2 separate regions of the Homo sapiens genome follow, and region 2 is linked to region 1. Evidence: promoter capture Hi-C in 16 types of primary human blood cells and fetal thymus (Javierre and others, 2016). All regions are on one chromosome and are shown on one strand. Each heading gives the region's core, a stretch centred on a gene start or on the middle of the fragment in contact. The rest is flanking DNA. Distances are from core to core; before and after follow the strand shown.

Evidence for each region. Contacts are between HindIII fragments. The CHiCAGO score rates a contact against its expected background, and 5 or more counts as called.
Region 2: a fragment that was not itself captured here is called in contact with the fragment with the promoter of INPP5A in region 1 in 1 of 17 cell types (fetal thymus); the score reaches 5.0 in fetal thymus.

Annotation. Positions count from the first base shown.
Region 1 is chr10:132,536,478-132,544,217 of GRCh38, forward strand. INPP5A (inositol polyphosphate-5-phosphatase A) reads left to right here and starts at 1,310. Exons shown (of 16, transcript NM_005539.5): 1 at 1,310-1,694. The coding sequence starts at 1,620. It overlaps LOC107984282 (a long non-coding RNA gene), which reads right to left and starts at 446. Exons shown (of 4, transcript NR_158224.1): 1 at 249-446. RefSeq lists a silencer at 331-1,430 and enhancers at 2,211-2,260, 4,267-4,801, 4,802-5,336, 5,097-5,256, 5,267-5,396. The HindIII fragment of the contact is 3,408 bases long and covers 272-3,679 here.
Region 2 is chr10:129,462,626-129,469,551 of GRCh38, forward strand. MGMT (O-6-methylguanine-DNA methyltransferase) reads left to right here and starts at 4,616. Exons shown (of 5, transcript NM_002412.5): 1 at 4,616-4,671. RefSeq lists silencers at 4,256-4,695, 4,716-4,915 and an enhancer at 4,482-5,404. The HindIII fragment of the contact is 635 bases long and covers 5,026-5,660 here.

The sequences.
Region 1 (7,740 bases), core at 60-2,559:
GACCGCCCCTAAATCTGTGTCCACAAAATCCTCCGGAGTGCCTGCTCCGCATGGTGGCCACTGGCCACACAGGGCTGCTGAGCACTGGAAGCGGCCTTGTGAGCTGCTGCCAAGAGGCAGGTGCCCGTGCAAAGCCTTCCTGTGAAGGAATCTCACTGAGGTTGTTAAATTCTGGTTACATGTTGAATGATGTATCTATCTATTGGGTTAAGTAAAACGTATTGTTAACTTTGGCTATTACTTGTTACCTTTAAAAAATGTAGCTACTGGAAGCTTTAAGATGACAAATGTGGTTCTCCTCCTCCATCTACAGGCATGTCCCGGTTCACGGCGGCTGTGTCCCCGCGGCCTCAGACCCAGGGTCCAGCCCATGCTCTGGCCCCTCCGGCGGCCAGGATCAGCATCGCTGCCCCGGGGCCCGCGCCGAGCCGGCTGCTCCTCCGTGCTCTGCGCTCCTGGGCCCGCACCAGCCCCCTCCCCTGGAGCCCCCTTCGTCCCTGCGAGGGTTCCCTGCACGCCCCGCGCTGAGACCCAGCCTGGCCCGGGCCGGAGCCCTCCGCGACGTCAGGATGCGCCTGGCCTCACGCCGCCTCCCCTCCGTCTTCTCTGGGCCGCAGCCGCTCCTCGTGAGTGAGGTCGCGGCCAGGGAGCCGGGTGGACGCGCCGGGAAGCTGCACGGTCCACGCTCCGTCTGCGCGGAGAGCCGGGCGCGCGTGGCCCGGCCCCTGCAGGCGCGACTGCCGCCGCCCCGGTGGGCTCCCCTCCCCCGCACGCCCGGCACGCGGCTGGACGACTGCGGCCGCGCGGGGGCTGGAACATCCCCTCAGAGCCGCAAGAGAGCGCACCCGCCGCCGGCGCCCGGAACCCAGGGCCCCTTTAAGAGGCGCCGCCGGAGCAGGGCCGTGACGTCATAGAAGTGCGAAGGGCGGAGTCTGTGCGCAGCCGCGGCGCGGGGGGCGGGGCGGGGGCGCGGCGTTCTTGCGGGCCTGACTGACAGGAGCGCCCTCCGGGAGCGACCAGTACTAGGCCGCCGGTCGCAAGAGCGCCCCGCGTAGGCCCCGCCCCGAAAGGAGGCCCCGCCCCGGGGCAGGCCCCGCCTCCACAAGGACACCAAGTCCCGCACAAGCCACGCCCCCCGCAGGCCCCGCCCCACTCTGTTCAGATCTAGGCCCAACTCAGGCTCCGCACCTCAAGGCTCCGCCCCCAGCAAGGCTCCGCCCCAGGCCCGGCTCCACCCCGCACAGGCCCCACCCCGAGTCAGGCTCCGCCCCGCCCAGGCCCCGCCCCGGGCTCGGCTCCGCGGGGCGGGACTTGCCCTCAGCCTGAGTCGGCGGCGGCTGCGGGAACTTTCCCAGCGGATCTAATGGCTGCGCGCGGGCCGCTGTGAGGCGCGGCGGCGAGCGACGGGCGCGGGGCCGCGGAGCAGCGAGCGAGCGAGCGAGCGCGAGGCCGGAGCCCCGGCCAGGCCCGGCCGACCCGCCGAGCCCGCGATGCGCCCCGGGGCCGCCCCCCGGCGCAGCTGACGCCCCGCGGCCCCGCGAAGACCCCGGCCGGCCGGTCCCGGAGGAAGCGGCCGCCGCCGCCGCCGCCCAGCCCAGCGCCCGCGCCGCCCGGGCACCATGGCGGGGAAGGCGGCCGCCCCGGGCACCGCGGTGCTGCTGGTCACGGCCAACGTGGGCTCGCTCTTCGACGACGTAAGTCCCCCGTGCCGGCGGCAGGCCCCAAGCCCGGAACCCCCGACCCTGACCCCGGGGTCCCGAACTGCAAGCCTTGGACCCTGGACCGTGAACCTCCAGACCCAGAGGCCCCAGACTCTGATCCCTGTACCCGGGACCCCAGACTCCTGTCCTGATTCCCAAGTCTGGGAGCCCAGACCCCTGTCTTGATCCCCAAGCCCGAGACCTGAAGACCTGGGCCCTGAATCCCCGAACCCCATCCTCCAGACTCCAGCAGCTGACCGTTGACCCTGGGACCCTGCCTCTGAACTCCTGTCTGCAAATCCTGACCTCGAAACTCCAATATTAAAACCCTGTCAGAACCCCTGTTAACAGTTCCTGGAACCCAAACCCCAGAAACCGGGTCTGTGCGCACCAAACCCAGCCCCAGCCCTGATTTCCGAATCCTCAGAACCCTGGCCCTGGAATGCCCATCCCCAACCCTGGCCCTGAACCCCAGGTCCATGGTCACTGGAACCACAAATCCTGACTGCAGAACTCTGGTTACAGAACCTGCTCTCAAACGTCTGTCTCTGGTCCCTGAGCCCTGGACCCCAAACCCTGAAACATAACCACAAACCCTAACCCAGGAACTTCTGACACAGGGCTGTGGCCCCAACCTCCTGTCCCTGTTCCCCAATCACTGAATTCTAGCCCTAGAATCCCAGCCTTCATACTGTGGCCCTTTGCCTCTAAAGCCAATCTAGCCTGACTCTGAACCCTGAATTTCAACCTCAGGCCCCAGCTTATGGCCCTGAACACTTGTCCTTGACCCCTGAACCTGGAACCCTGGTTCCAGAATCAGGCCCCAAACCCAATTCTGGACCCTGCCCCTAACTCTGGTTCCTAGATCCCATCCTTGGCCCCTTCCTCCAACAAGCTCCTGCCCCTGAATCCTGAATCCTGAATCCTGGTCTTAAAGCCTGGGCCTTGAGCCTGCAGAATTCCCAAACCCTAACCCTTGACTCCCACCCCTGGCCCCTGTCCTCTGAGCCTAGGCCCTCCACTCTGGCTGTCAGCCCCAGCTCCTGGATGCCTGGGTGCCGGCCTCACTGTCTGTCTGTCCCTGCAGGGCCAGAGGGTAGGGTGCCCCCATTTAACCCTGCCACTTAGTATCTCTTTAGTTCGTAAATAAGGGAAGTCTGTAAAGCACTGTAGGACTTTATATTTCTTGTTTATTGAAGAAAAAGATGCTGAGAAGCTCTTCAGGGCCAGAAAGGGGATGCTGACTGCCTATGGCCTTTACCTTCTAGGGCCCCTCCCACCCAAGCCTCATTCCCACCCAGGATCCCAGGGTGCCCCCATCTCTGGAGAGACCAGGGAGCTGAGGCCCAGGGCGCACTGGGAGCTCCCCAGAGGCAGGCCGGTCTGACCTAGTTTGGCGTTTCAGCCACGGTGCCACCCTGCTGTTGGTACTCCTGCTGCCAACCCAAATAAAGCAGAGTGAGGCTCCAAGTGGCCCAGATGGAGGCCGTGGAGCCACGGACGCTCCCTCCCTCCCTCCCTCCCTCCCTAGGTGAACAGTGGGGCACCGCACCAGCTTTATGACGGATGTGTGCCACTGATGCACGCGTGGTTTCCATTTCAGGAGGAGGTCTTGTGTCTTTGCTGGCAGCAAGCATGGGTGAAGTGTTTGATGAAGCTCAGTTCATGCACAGGCTAGGTTTGGTTTTTATTAACAAAAGGCGCTGTTTTTCTGTTTTTCTTATTTTAACTTCCAGGTGCCCATGTATTATACTGACCTGCTGGGGAGGAACTGGTTTTCCTCACACTTTATTATTAACAACTTCATCTAGGTTTATGTTTGATCATTTTCTACAAAAGTGCCTGGCATGGGTGTGTGTCTGTATATTTGGCGTTCTATTCTAGGCTTTCCAGTAACATGTCACTATAGCATGGTTTTGTTCAGATGATTCAGATCCGTTAGCTGCGGCTTCAAAGCCTCAGAAATGTCAGGAGCATTAAGCTTGCTGGGGCATTTTAGTCTCAAAGGGAAACGAGTTTTACTGTGCAGACATTCTTTCCAGTAATCTTTGATTCTGAGTTCTAGCATTTTTGTTGTGTTTCAATTGTATACACGTATTTATCTCTGTTGATATTAAATTGGGTAACTTAATTCACTTTTGTTTAGCAACCTATTCTCTCTGAATTTTCATTTTTCTTAAAGGCTATGTGGAATTTTGCATTATGTTTATGTTTAGAAGGAACATTTGTTTAGGTCAACAGTACATAGGTTAATTCTGAAAGGTGCATTGTGATTTCAGGGCTGAGTGGAAACTTATCTGTCCGTGTCTGAAGATTTCTTAATGTGTGCAGCTCAGTCCCCGGGGGCCAGACCCAGTCTCCTTCAGTGGAAACCAGCCAGGCACTCACATTCCCAGGCCCCCTTCCTTGGTTGAGGTTTGGGGTGTGGTACTTGTGGGCCAGAAGCCTGGCCGGTGGAAGGAAATTCATGAGTGAAGGAAGTTTTGGTTTCTTGGTTTGTCCTGGATTTCAGGGGACCTGCTTTGAGATTCTGTTTGCCTTTGTGCAGCCCGTCCCGTGCTGACGAACGCACCCTGCAGGCAGTGCTCAGGCTGTGAAGGAATCTTTCTCGCCCAGTCTCACCGTGTTGGAAGCCAAGCTCGTCTGTGACCAGTGCTGGAGCCGGTCACAGTTCCGAGGAGGAAGGTGTTTGAATCTGAAGCAGATATCCCGGACTGTGGCGGACTCTGTTTTCCTTTTGTGCACAAGTGATAGGTGGTTTGCTTTTGCTTTTGCAGTTTTGAAAGTCTCCCCTCTTAAGGCCCCTCCTCCTCCCCCTCTTGTTTTTGTTTTAGACAGGGTCTCATTCTGTCGCCCAGGCTAGAGTGCTGTAGTGGTGCGGTCACAACTCACTGCAGCCTCGACCGCCCTGACTCAGGTGAACCTCAGCATCCTAAGTAGCTGGGACCACAGGCACATGCCACCATGCCTAGCTAATTTTTGTAGAGACCAGGTTTCGCCGTGTTGTCCGGGCTGGTCTGGAACTCCTGGGCCCAAGCAATCCACCTGCCTCGGCTTCCCAAAGTGCTGGGATTACAGGTGTGAGCCACTGTCCCTGGTCCAGAGGTCACCCCTCTCAAAACGCTGCGTGCATCCACTTCAGCTGTGGTTTGTAGCATCCTGGGATCCACACGGAATCTCACTCAGCAGCCCCTGTTTGCTCATCACTACTCCATCTTTGTGACCCCAGATTGGCCATGCTGCGGGCTGCGGGGCTGTCCCCACTGGGGTTGTGTCTGACCCTGTGCAGACAGTGTTGCGGTAAATGCCTTACAGTGTACCGGTCCCCAAGCCCTTATCCCTCACTTTCCTAGAAATTATGGAGGACCCGAAAGAGTTCTTGTTTATGTTGGTTATAACTACCAATATTTCTCATATTGGGAGCTGAGACTGCATGAGAATACATAGCTCACTGCACTAGCTGGCAGAGCGATTACATCATCCCACATCACAGGCACCCCCTCAGGTGTTGGCCGTTCTTCCCTAGGAGACAGTGAGAATGGAAAGAGGAGTCATTTTGTAGTATTATGGAAATAGTGTTGACCTAGTCAACCTGTGAAAAGGCCTCCTCAGCCCAGTCCTCCCTCCCCATACTGTCATGGGCACCCCTGTCTCTGGCCAGGTGGCTGGGGTGCCTGGGACTTTCCCAGGCTTATGCAGACTGCCAGATCACCCTCGGTGAGCCCTGCAGCTGGTCTTTAATTCCTGGATTGGACTCCTGCTGTCACTACTGGTTTGCTTGGAAAGAGGTGACCAGGGGTCCATATTTAATTGTTTTGCTTTGATGTGGCTGGTTTTTTGACAAGTGAGGTTTCTGGCTTTTGGTTCCTTCCATTTTTATGAGAAGGGAATTGAGGAGGTGAATTCTTGCCAGCTGTGGCGTCCCACCCTTGCATGGTCAGGCTGCTGTTTGGTCCTGAGAACACAGCCCGCTGGCGGGTATCTGCCTGGTGGCCCTTCCTGCTGCTTGTTCGCAGCTAAGTCAGTTCTGAGCCAGTTTGCCTTTTTGCTTAGTCAGCTCCCGGGCAGCCCTGTCCCTCTGCCCAGACCCGGGTTTGCAGAACGGCTGTGAGAGTGGGCTCGGCAAGTGCTCGCTGGCAGGGACCTGAGCACCTTGCAGTCAGCAGGTGTTGAAGAGCCCTGGAAGAGCGTGGAGGTGGCGGAGCTGCTGTGGGTATGGAGTCGGTGATGGTCAGTGGTGCAGGCTGGCGTCTCTCTCTGGTAGCATCAGCATTGCCTTCTTTGCCATGTGGTTCCTGGCAACACCAAAGGTACTGCCCTCTCTCCCACCTTGAAAACTCTGAACTCCATGTTTCCTCCAGCCACTGCGGGGCATCCTGACTCTCTACCGTGGCAGCCCTCGAGTGGGGTGGGGGGGTCTCCCCTCCATGTCCTTCTCCAGGCCTCTGCCCCAGCACTCCTGCACAGCAGGGCCCAGGGCTGGGTGCGGGTTGTACCCAGCTGGCAGTGACTAGCCAGAATTTTTGCTCCCTCTGTGGATCCTCCTTCTTCTTCAGGGACGTTTCACTTGGTAATGGCTGTGCTGGGACAGAATTCGCACACCATGCCCCTCACCCATTTCTTTTTCCTTTTCTTTTTTGTTTTCACACAGGGTCTCATTCTGTCACCCAGGCTGGAGTGCGGTGGCTCACTGTAGCCTTGAACTCCTGGGCTGAAGTGAGCTGAAGCCATCCTCCTGCCTCAGCCTTCTAAGTAGCTGGGACCACAGGTGCACGCTACCACACCCAGCTGATTTTTTTATTTTTATTTTTTGTAGAGATGGGGTCTTGCTGTGTTGCCCAGACTGGGCTCAAACTCCTGGGCTCAAGCAGTGCTCTCATCTCTGTCTCCCGGAGTGTTGGAATCACAGGTGTGGGCCCTCACACCCAGCCCTTTCTCCCATATGAGGTGTACAATTCACTGGTTTTCAGTATGTTCACAGGGTGTGCAGCTGTCACCACAGGCAATTGTAGAACATTTTTATCACCTCAAAAAGAAGCTGCATTAGCACCCAAGCCCCACGTCCCCCAGCCTCCCCACCCCCTGCAGTCAGTTTTCCTCTCTGTGGATTTGCCTGTCCCGGGCGTTTCACATACATGGGATCAGACGGTCTGCCCTTTGACCTGACTGCTTTCACTGAGCGTATGTAAAAGTGTCCATGCTGCAGCGTGCGTCAGTCCTGCATTTCTTCCTTTCTTTCTTTTTTCTTTTAAATTACAGAGACGGGGTCTTGCTGTTCACCCAGACTGGAATGCAATGGTGTGATCGCAGCTCACTGTAGCCTTGACCTCCTGGCTTCAAGTGATCCTCCTGCCTTAGCCTCCTGAATAACGGGGACTACAGGCATGCACCACTATGCCCAGCTAATTCTTTTTACTTTTTGAGAAGATGAGGTCTCACTATGCTGCCTAGGCTAGTCTCAAAGTCCTGGCTTCAAGTGATCCCCTGGCCTTGGCCTCCCAAAGTGCTGGGCTTACAGGCATGAGCCACAGTGCCAAGTCTCTTTATTCCTGTTTATGGCTGAATAATATTCCATTGTGTGGATACACCAAGTTTTGTTTCTGTGTTCATCAGCTGGTGGATGTTTGGCCTGTTCCCTCCTTCCGGTTCTGGTGAACAGTGGATGTTTGGCCTATTCCCACCTTTAAGTTCGGGTGAACAGTGGATGTTTGGGCTGTTCCCGCCTTCCGGTTCTGGTGAACAGTGCTGCTGTGTGCATCTTTGCAGGCGTCCCTAGGCGGACATGCGTTCTCAGTGCTGTTGGGTGTGCATAGTCTTGGCATTGCTGGGTGACGTGGTGAGTTCGTATTTAACCCTTGAGGGCCTGTCAGGCAGTCCATGGTGGCTGCCCCATGTCACATCCCTCCCAGGGTTCTGGTTTCTGCACCTCTCAGTGTTGGCGCCCCTGGGCTCAGGCTGGCCACCCTTCTCCCTTCCTGGGACCTCATCTAGACGCACAGCCATAAGTGCCATCTCTGTGTGGGTGCCCACTCCCAGCGAG
Region 2 (6,926 bases), core at 4,093-6,592, 3.1 Mb before region 1:
CACCCCTCCAACCCCAGCAGATATCCTGGCTGAGCCTGTTTTCTCTGTGAGGGGCTACACTGCACACTGGGGCTCTTGAAAAGGGCTTGCTGGGCTGGGCACGGTGGCTCACGCCTGTAATCCTGACACTTTGGTAGGCCGAGGTGGGTGGATCACCTGAGGTCAGGTGTTCAAGATCAGCCTGGCCAATATGGTGAAACCCCGTCTCTACTAAAAATACAGAAAAATTAGCTGGGCATGGTGGTGTGCACCTGTAATCCCAGCTACTCAGGAGGCTGAGGCAGGAGAATCACTTGAACCCGGGAGGCAGAGGTTCCAGTGAGCCAAGATGGCACCATTGTACTTCAGCCTAGGCGACAGAGAGAGACTCCAATTCAAAAAAAGAAAAAGAGAAAAAAAAAAAAAAGAAAAAAAAGAAAGGGCTTCCTGCAGGGACAGTCAGTGCAGGAAAGGGCCTCTTTCGTACTCCCACTGCCCCTACGCATCTCCTGGGTAGAGGTCGCTGCTCCAGAGAGCAAACTATTTCCTCATCTGTGTGCCATTCCACTACAAGCCCCACAGGGGCCTGCAACGAGTCCCATAAATCCATCTCCAGGCCCTGCACCCACAAACTGGCAAAGGAAGTTTCAGGAAAAGTCTTTCTAATAGGAGTCTGTGGGCTGCCTCTGGTTCGTTTCTTTAGGAATTCTCCTCCATGCCCTTCTTGACACAAAAGGGCCTGAAGGGTTCCAGTTCTCAACAGGAGCTCCCAGGGGCTCCTGGCAGGAGGATGTTCTGCCTCTTTGGAGGAAAGCAAGAGCTAAGGAGCCCCTCCTGTTTTAGTTGCACCTCCATCCCCTTTCTCCACCCTGCACCATTCCCTTACCCTCTATGTGAGGCAAAGCCTGAAGTCCCTCCTTCCCGCCCTCTCTCCTGCCCACTAGTAGATTACACTCCCTGCTGCAGTTACACCATGATGCCTCTGCCATGCTGACAACTAGTGTCACACAGGAGCGTAATCAGAAGCACCTGGCATTCAACCCCGGTACCGATGGCCCCCACCTTTTCATTTCAGGCTTCTTCCTCCAGAGTGCTTGAGGCTCCCTGGCCTCCTGGCCTCTCCCAGGTCCAAGGCGCTGACTCCAGCTCTTGGCTCCAACATTTACAGGAACACTGGGACTAAGAAAATCAATTGTGTTAATCAGCAAAACCCTCCACTTGAGATGCTATCCTAAAAGCAAACTATATGTAAAACACTTAACGTGGGGAGCTCTGTAATATGTTTCTTTTGTTACACGACCATCACACATTTGTCCGGAGTTTGGGGCTTTCAAACCACATAAGGTTTTATGTGATCGTTATAAAATCCCTTCATTTCCCAAAGGTAGGGTAGTAAGGATTAAGTTTGACTACTGAAGGCAGCTTTGTTGTAAGTGGTCTCTAATGTCACAAAAGTAGCTTGGGAAGACAGGCTTATTAAACAAATTTCTTGGGTTGCAAATCATTAGAAGCAATCGCATGTCATGTTCATTTGCTTAACCCGAAAGGTATCCATTTGGATGTTTAAAGAAACTATGCAGATTAACATTGTTCCCAGTGCCCACAAGAAAGCTGGCTGATCTTAAAGGAAATCCAGGGAGCTCCTTGAGGAAGTCGGACTGCAGTTGAGCATACCCTTTTGTGGTTTTCCCACCTCTTTTGTAAAAAGTTCTTCATAGGAATCTGTGTCTGGAGGAAAAGGGGTTGTGATTTGTTAATCTGAAGATGGGAGACCTCAAAGGAATCTCACCCAACCAGTCCTGCACTGTCATCCTATGAACAGAGAAGTCAGGTGGTTGCTCAGTGAGGGGCAGGGCTGGCACCACATCCGAGCCTCCCTGTCCTGTGTTCCTTACTCTTCAGTGGACCCGGCGACCTCCCGGCTTTGGAGCCATCCTGTGTTCCTTTAACAGTAGGACGAACACACAGGCGATGATGAGATTGTAATGGGACAAGGGGGAGAGGCGTGGGGAGCTCTTGATGAAAACTTGGGTTTTTGAAATTACCATGATGAAGGGAGGAGCTTGCACCAGCAGGTGTAAGGAGTGTGAGTTTGAGTTCTGCTCATCAGACAGCCTAAGCAGTCACATCCTTGAATCCTGGTCTTTTGCAGGCCAGTCCTTGGTCAGGTGGTGGCCTTTTTCCTCTTTCCCCTCTGCACTGAGACCCTTATTTGGCTCCTGATCCTGGAGCCCCTGACACAGTCCTTACCACTGAAGTAGCTGTGGCCCTTCACATAGTTCTTCCCACCACGCCAGCAAGGGGACTGAGTTCTTTCAGTACAGCCAGGGCCAGGTCCACACATCTCCCTGGGAAGCCAGCACTTTCTCTCGTGGACCGCCTCCCCATTCCCACAGGGCCCTCCTAAAGGGCCTTTGGATGACCACATTGGCCTTTCTTTCCTAGGGTGGGGAATTAGAGATGCTAAGACTGGCCAGTCTCTTTTTCTTAAGAGTTTAGGGATTCGTCTTAAAATATTATTCAGATAAACGTATGAGTCATGTGTTAACTGCAAAACTACTTAACAGCACACTTGTTAGAATATCAGTCGGCACTCTGATTCCATTTCGGCATTGTTTTTCCTTTGGTTCTATTAAGATCCCGGTTCTAACTGGGTCCTGGTAGTAACAGGCTGTAAGTGGCCAGGTGTATAGCATTATTTCTTAGTAGTGTGGTGTGGTGCTGGTGGTTTATTTTCCCTATGCACACATGCCCTAATATGGAAGGATAGTTTGTACACACGTAGGGTACGTTATCATGAGACTCCTTTACAGAGTATGAAACTGAGGATTAGAGAAGTCAGACGAGTTTCCCGAAGTCTTATAGAAGGCTAATGGAAAAAACCAGAGCCAAGGGCAAACATGTTTCATCTGTCCTTCCACATTAGTTTAAATGTGAATGGCTGCTTGGAACACAGTGTTGAGAAGGATTCCGAGGCTGTGTCCAGGTTCAGTGGGGAAAAAGTGCCTTGATTTGACCATTATATCGTGTACTCAGGGCCTAGTTTATTTCCCACAAGCAGCTATTTAAAACATGTCTCATCCAAGGCAGGGTCGGGGTGGGGAACCTCAGAGGATCAATGATGCAGCCTGTATTGTCACCAGGGCTCATCCCAAAGCAAATCCTGCTGAAGTTCTCCTCTGAACAACCCTTATCACTCATGCTAATATGTTGGATCCTGCAAGTCACAAATACGAAGGTATGAGCATTGGCCGAATCCCAACAGGGAAACTTCACCGGGAAGGTGAAGACCCCTTTCCATTAAGATAACAAACAGAACCTAGAAGGCCCGTAGCATGGTGGCTTAGAACATGTGGGCCTTGGATGGGATCCTGCCAAGGGGTGTGTGACCTCTCCGAAGCCTCCAGGGATGATACTACTCCCTGGGGTGCTTATGCCAACCACGTTAGAGACAATGGTTTCTGTACCCATTGCCTGGGGCTGCCATAATAAAGTGCCACACACTGAGTGGCTTAAAACAACAGAAACCTATTGTCTCACACTTCCGGGGGCCAGAAGTTTGAAACCCAGGTGTGTTAGGATCCTGCTCCCTCTGAAGGCTCCAGGGAAGAGTGTCCTCTGCTCCCTCCGAAGGCTCCAGGGAAGGGTCTGTCCTCTTAGGCTTCTGGTGGCTTGCAGGTGCAGCCCTCCAATCCTCCTCCCCAAGCGGCCTTCTGCCTATAAGGACACGAGTCATACTGGATGAGGGGCCCACTAATTGATGGCTTCTGTAAAGTCCCCATCTCCAAATAAGGTCACATTGTGAGGTACTGGGAGTTAGGACTCCAACATAGCTTCTCTGGTGGACACAATTCAACTCCTAATAACGTCCACACAACCCCAAGCAGGGCCTGGCACCCTGTGTGCTCTCTGGAGAGCGGCTGAGTCAGGCTCTGGCAGTGTCTAGGCCATCGGTGACTGCAGCCCCTGGACGGCATCGCCCACCACAGGCCCTGGAGGCTGCCCCCACGGCCCCCTGACAGGGTCTCTGCTGGTCTGGGGGTCCCTGACTAGGGGAGCGGCACCAGGAGGGGAGAGACTCGCGCTCCGGGCTCAGCGTAGCCGCCCCGAGCAGGACCGGGATTCTCACTAAGCGGGCGCCGTCCTACGACCCCCGCGCGCTTTCAGGACCACTCGGGCACGTGGCAGGTCGCTTGCACGCCCGCGGACTATCCCTGTGACAGGAAAAGGTACGGGCCATTTGGCAAACTAAGGCACAGAGCCTCAGGCGGAAGCTGGGAAGGCGCCGCCCGGCTTGTACCGGCCGAAGGGCCATCCGGGTCAGGCGCACAGGGCAGCGGCGCTGCCGGAGGACCAGGGCCGGCGTGCCGGCGTCCAGCGAGGATGCGCAGACTGCCTCAGGCCCGGCGCCGCCGCACAGGGCATGCGCCGACCCGGTCGGGCGGGAACACCCCGCCCCTCCCGGGCTCCGCCCCAGCTCCGCCCCCGCGCGCCCCGGCCCCGCCCCCGCGCGCTCTCTTGCTTTTCTCAGGTCCTCGGCTCCGCCCCGCTCTAGACCCCGCCCCACGCCGCCATCCCCGTGCCCCTCGGCCCCGCCCCCGCGCCCCGGATATGCTGGGACAGCCCGCGCCCCTAGAACGCTTTGCGTCCCGACGCCCGCAGGTCCTCGCGGTGCGCACCGTTTGCGACTTGGTGAGTGTCTGGGTCGCCTCGCTCCCGGAAGAGTGCGGAGCTCTCCCTCGGGACGGTGGCAGCCTCGAGTGGTCCTGCAGGCGCCCTCACTTCGCCGTCGGGTGTGGGGCCGCCCTGACCCCCACCCATCCCGGGCGAGCTCCAGGTGCGCCCCAAGTGCCTCCCAGGTGTTGCCCAGCCTTTCCCCGGGCCTGGGGTTCCTGGACTAGGCTGCGCTGCAGTGACTGTGGACTGGCGTGTGGCGGGGGTCGTGGCAGCCCCTGCCTTACCTCTAGGTGCCAGCCCCAGGCCCGGGCCCCGGGTTCTTCCTACCCTTCCATGCTGCCAGCTTTCCCTCCGCCAGCTGCTCCAGGAAGCTTCCAGAAGCCCCTGCGCGGGCCTTGGCTTGCAGCAACCCTTTAGCATACTTAGGCAGAGTCCCATATTTCCTTCCTGCTGGAGGCCAAGTTCTAGGGGCCTTCTGGTTACTATGGCTGGTGTTTGTGTACATCATACCCTAACTGTATTCATCAACACTTAGAGTAAGCAAGGCTCGCTGGAGAGCCACACACACTGGGCACCGTAATGTCGGTTATAACACCGCAGAGGAGTTCTGAACTATGTATTTCGCACTCCTGGGTTCATCATCTCCTGAAATCTCAGGGTGGTGTTTGCTCTCAGTTGCTTCAGCTGAGTAGCTGGCTTTCTGTCCTGGAAAGCAGACTTTGTACATGTGTGTGCAACCTATGCCTGCTGAGATCATCATCAGACAGGGAAGCGGCTTGGTCCAGAGAGCTGTTCTCAGTAGAATGTTAAGCACAGAGAGCTGAGAATTAGACTGGTTATTTACATAGACATCCAAATAGAAACCTATAGAGTATCTGTTAAGTCAGGCTCTCCCGTCATCTCCCCCATCCCTGGGCAGGTGTCTAGGAGATGGTTTTGTTATTTTCAGGGCCCTCTCAATGGCTAAAACACTCTGGGAGATGAACAAGATTTTAAAAACCCAAAGCTTAGCGCACCTGGTGGGTGGGGGTGTGAAAACTTTGAAGGAAACCGCGTCAAGAGCCTGGCTGATTGTTAATATCACGTTAACTCAGAGGGCCAGGATACTTGCCCAGACCCGGAGTCTGCCTGCAAGTAGCAGAGGAGAGCTGGCCTTGCTCTGCCGCGTGTCTTTCTTCCTGGGCCCTCTGTCTCGGGTTGGAATTTGAATAGTGGAGTAGTGTCTGCCACAGTCAGGGGCCTGGATGAAGTAGACCACCAGTACGGAGCTATACTCAGGTACTTTTCAATGTATATATCTTCATTAAAAAAAAAAAATCTGGGCCAGGCACAGTGGGTCACGCCTGTAATCTCAGCACTTTGGGAGGCCGAGGTGGGTGGATCACCTGAAGTCAGGAGTTTGAGACCAGCCTGGCCAACATGGTGAAACCCAGTTTCTACTAAAAACACAAAAATTATCCAGGCGTGGTGGTGCATGCTGGTAATCCCAGTTACTTGGGAGACTGAGGCAGGAGAATTGCTTGAACCTGGGAGGCGGAGGTTGCAGTGAGCCGAGATTGCGCCATTGCACTCCAACCTGGGCGACGAGAGTGAAACTGTCCTGAAGGGGAAACAAAAAAATCTGTATCAAAATAAGGATTTAACTAATAGTATTAGGCACTACTTTAAAAAGGCTTTGCTGTTAGTAAGGTTGAAAGAAATAGAGCCCTAGGTATACATTGGGTAGCACCTTGTTCAGCTGCTCAGATTCTTGAACCTTGTTGAGGTCTTACTTTGATATCACCTGGGCCTTACTTTTCGTTGTTTGGGTTTCCTCCCCAGGTGTCTCAATCAGGGCCTCCTCTGTCCTTTTGCAGGGAAGAAGGGGGTAGGAAGGGCCTGAAAAAGAACTTGCCTTCCCCATTGCCCCCTCAGAGTTTGTTCCTCTCCAGTCCTCTTCCCACCCTTTCTTAGGACACCAAAACCCTGACTCTTTCAGTATTTTATAATAAAATAAAGTTACTAAATTGTCTGTTCTGTTTTGCAGAGGACACACATTTAGGAGCCAGTGATTCAGACCTTCCATTTTTCTTTTTGGTGCTAATGCTCTTTTCAGTATATTCTCTTTGATAGAAAAAAAATGGAGGCAAAACTGAATTTTCTGCATTATCTTTTCCTTTAGCATTATTCTTGTTTCTGCACTTCATTCTGACCCCCTTCCCCAGCATAAAGTTCCATGTCCAGATCCACTTGCCCTGAGATTTTTGACTTCCGTTTGGGACTCTAGTCCC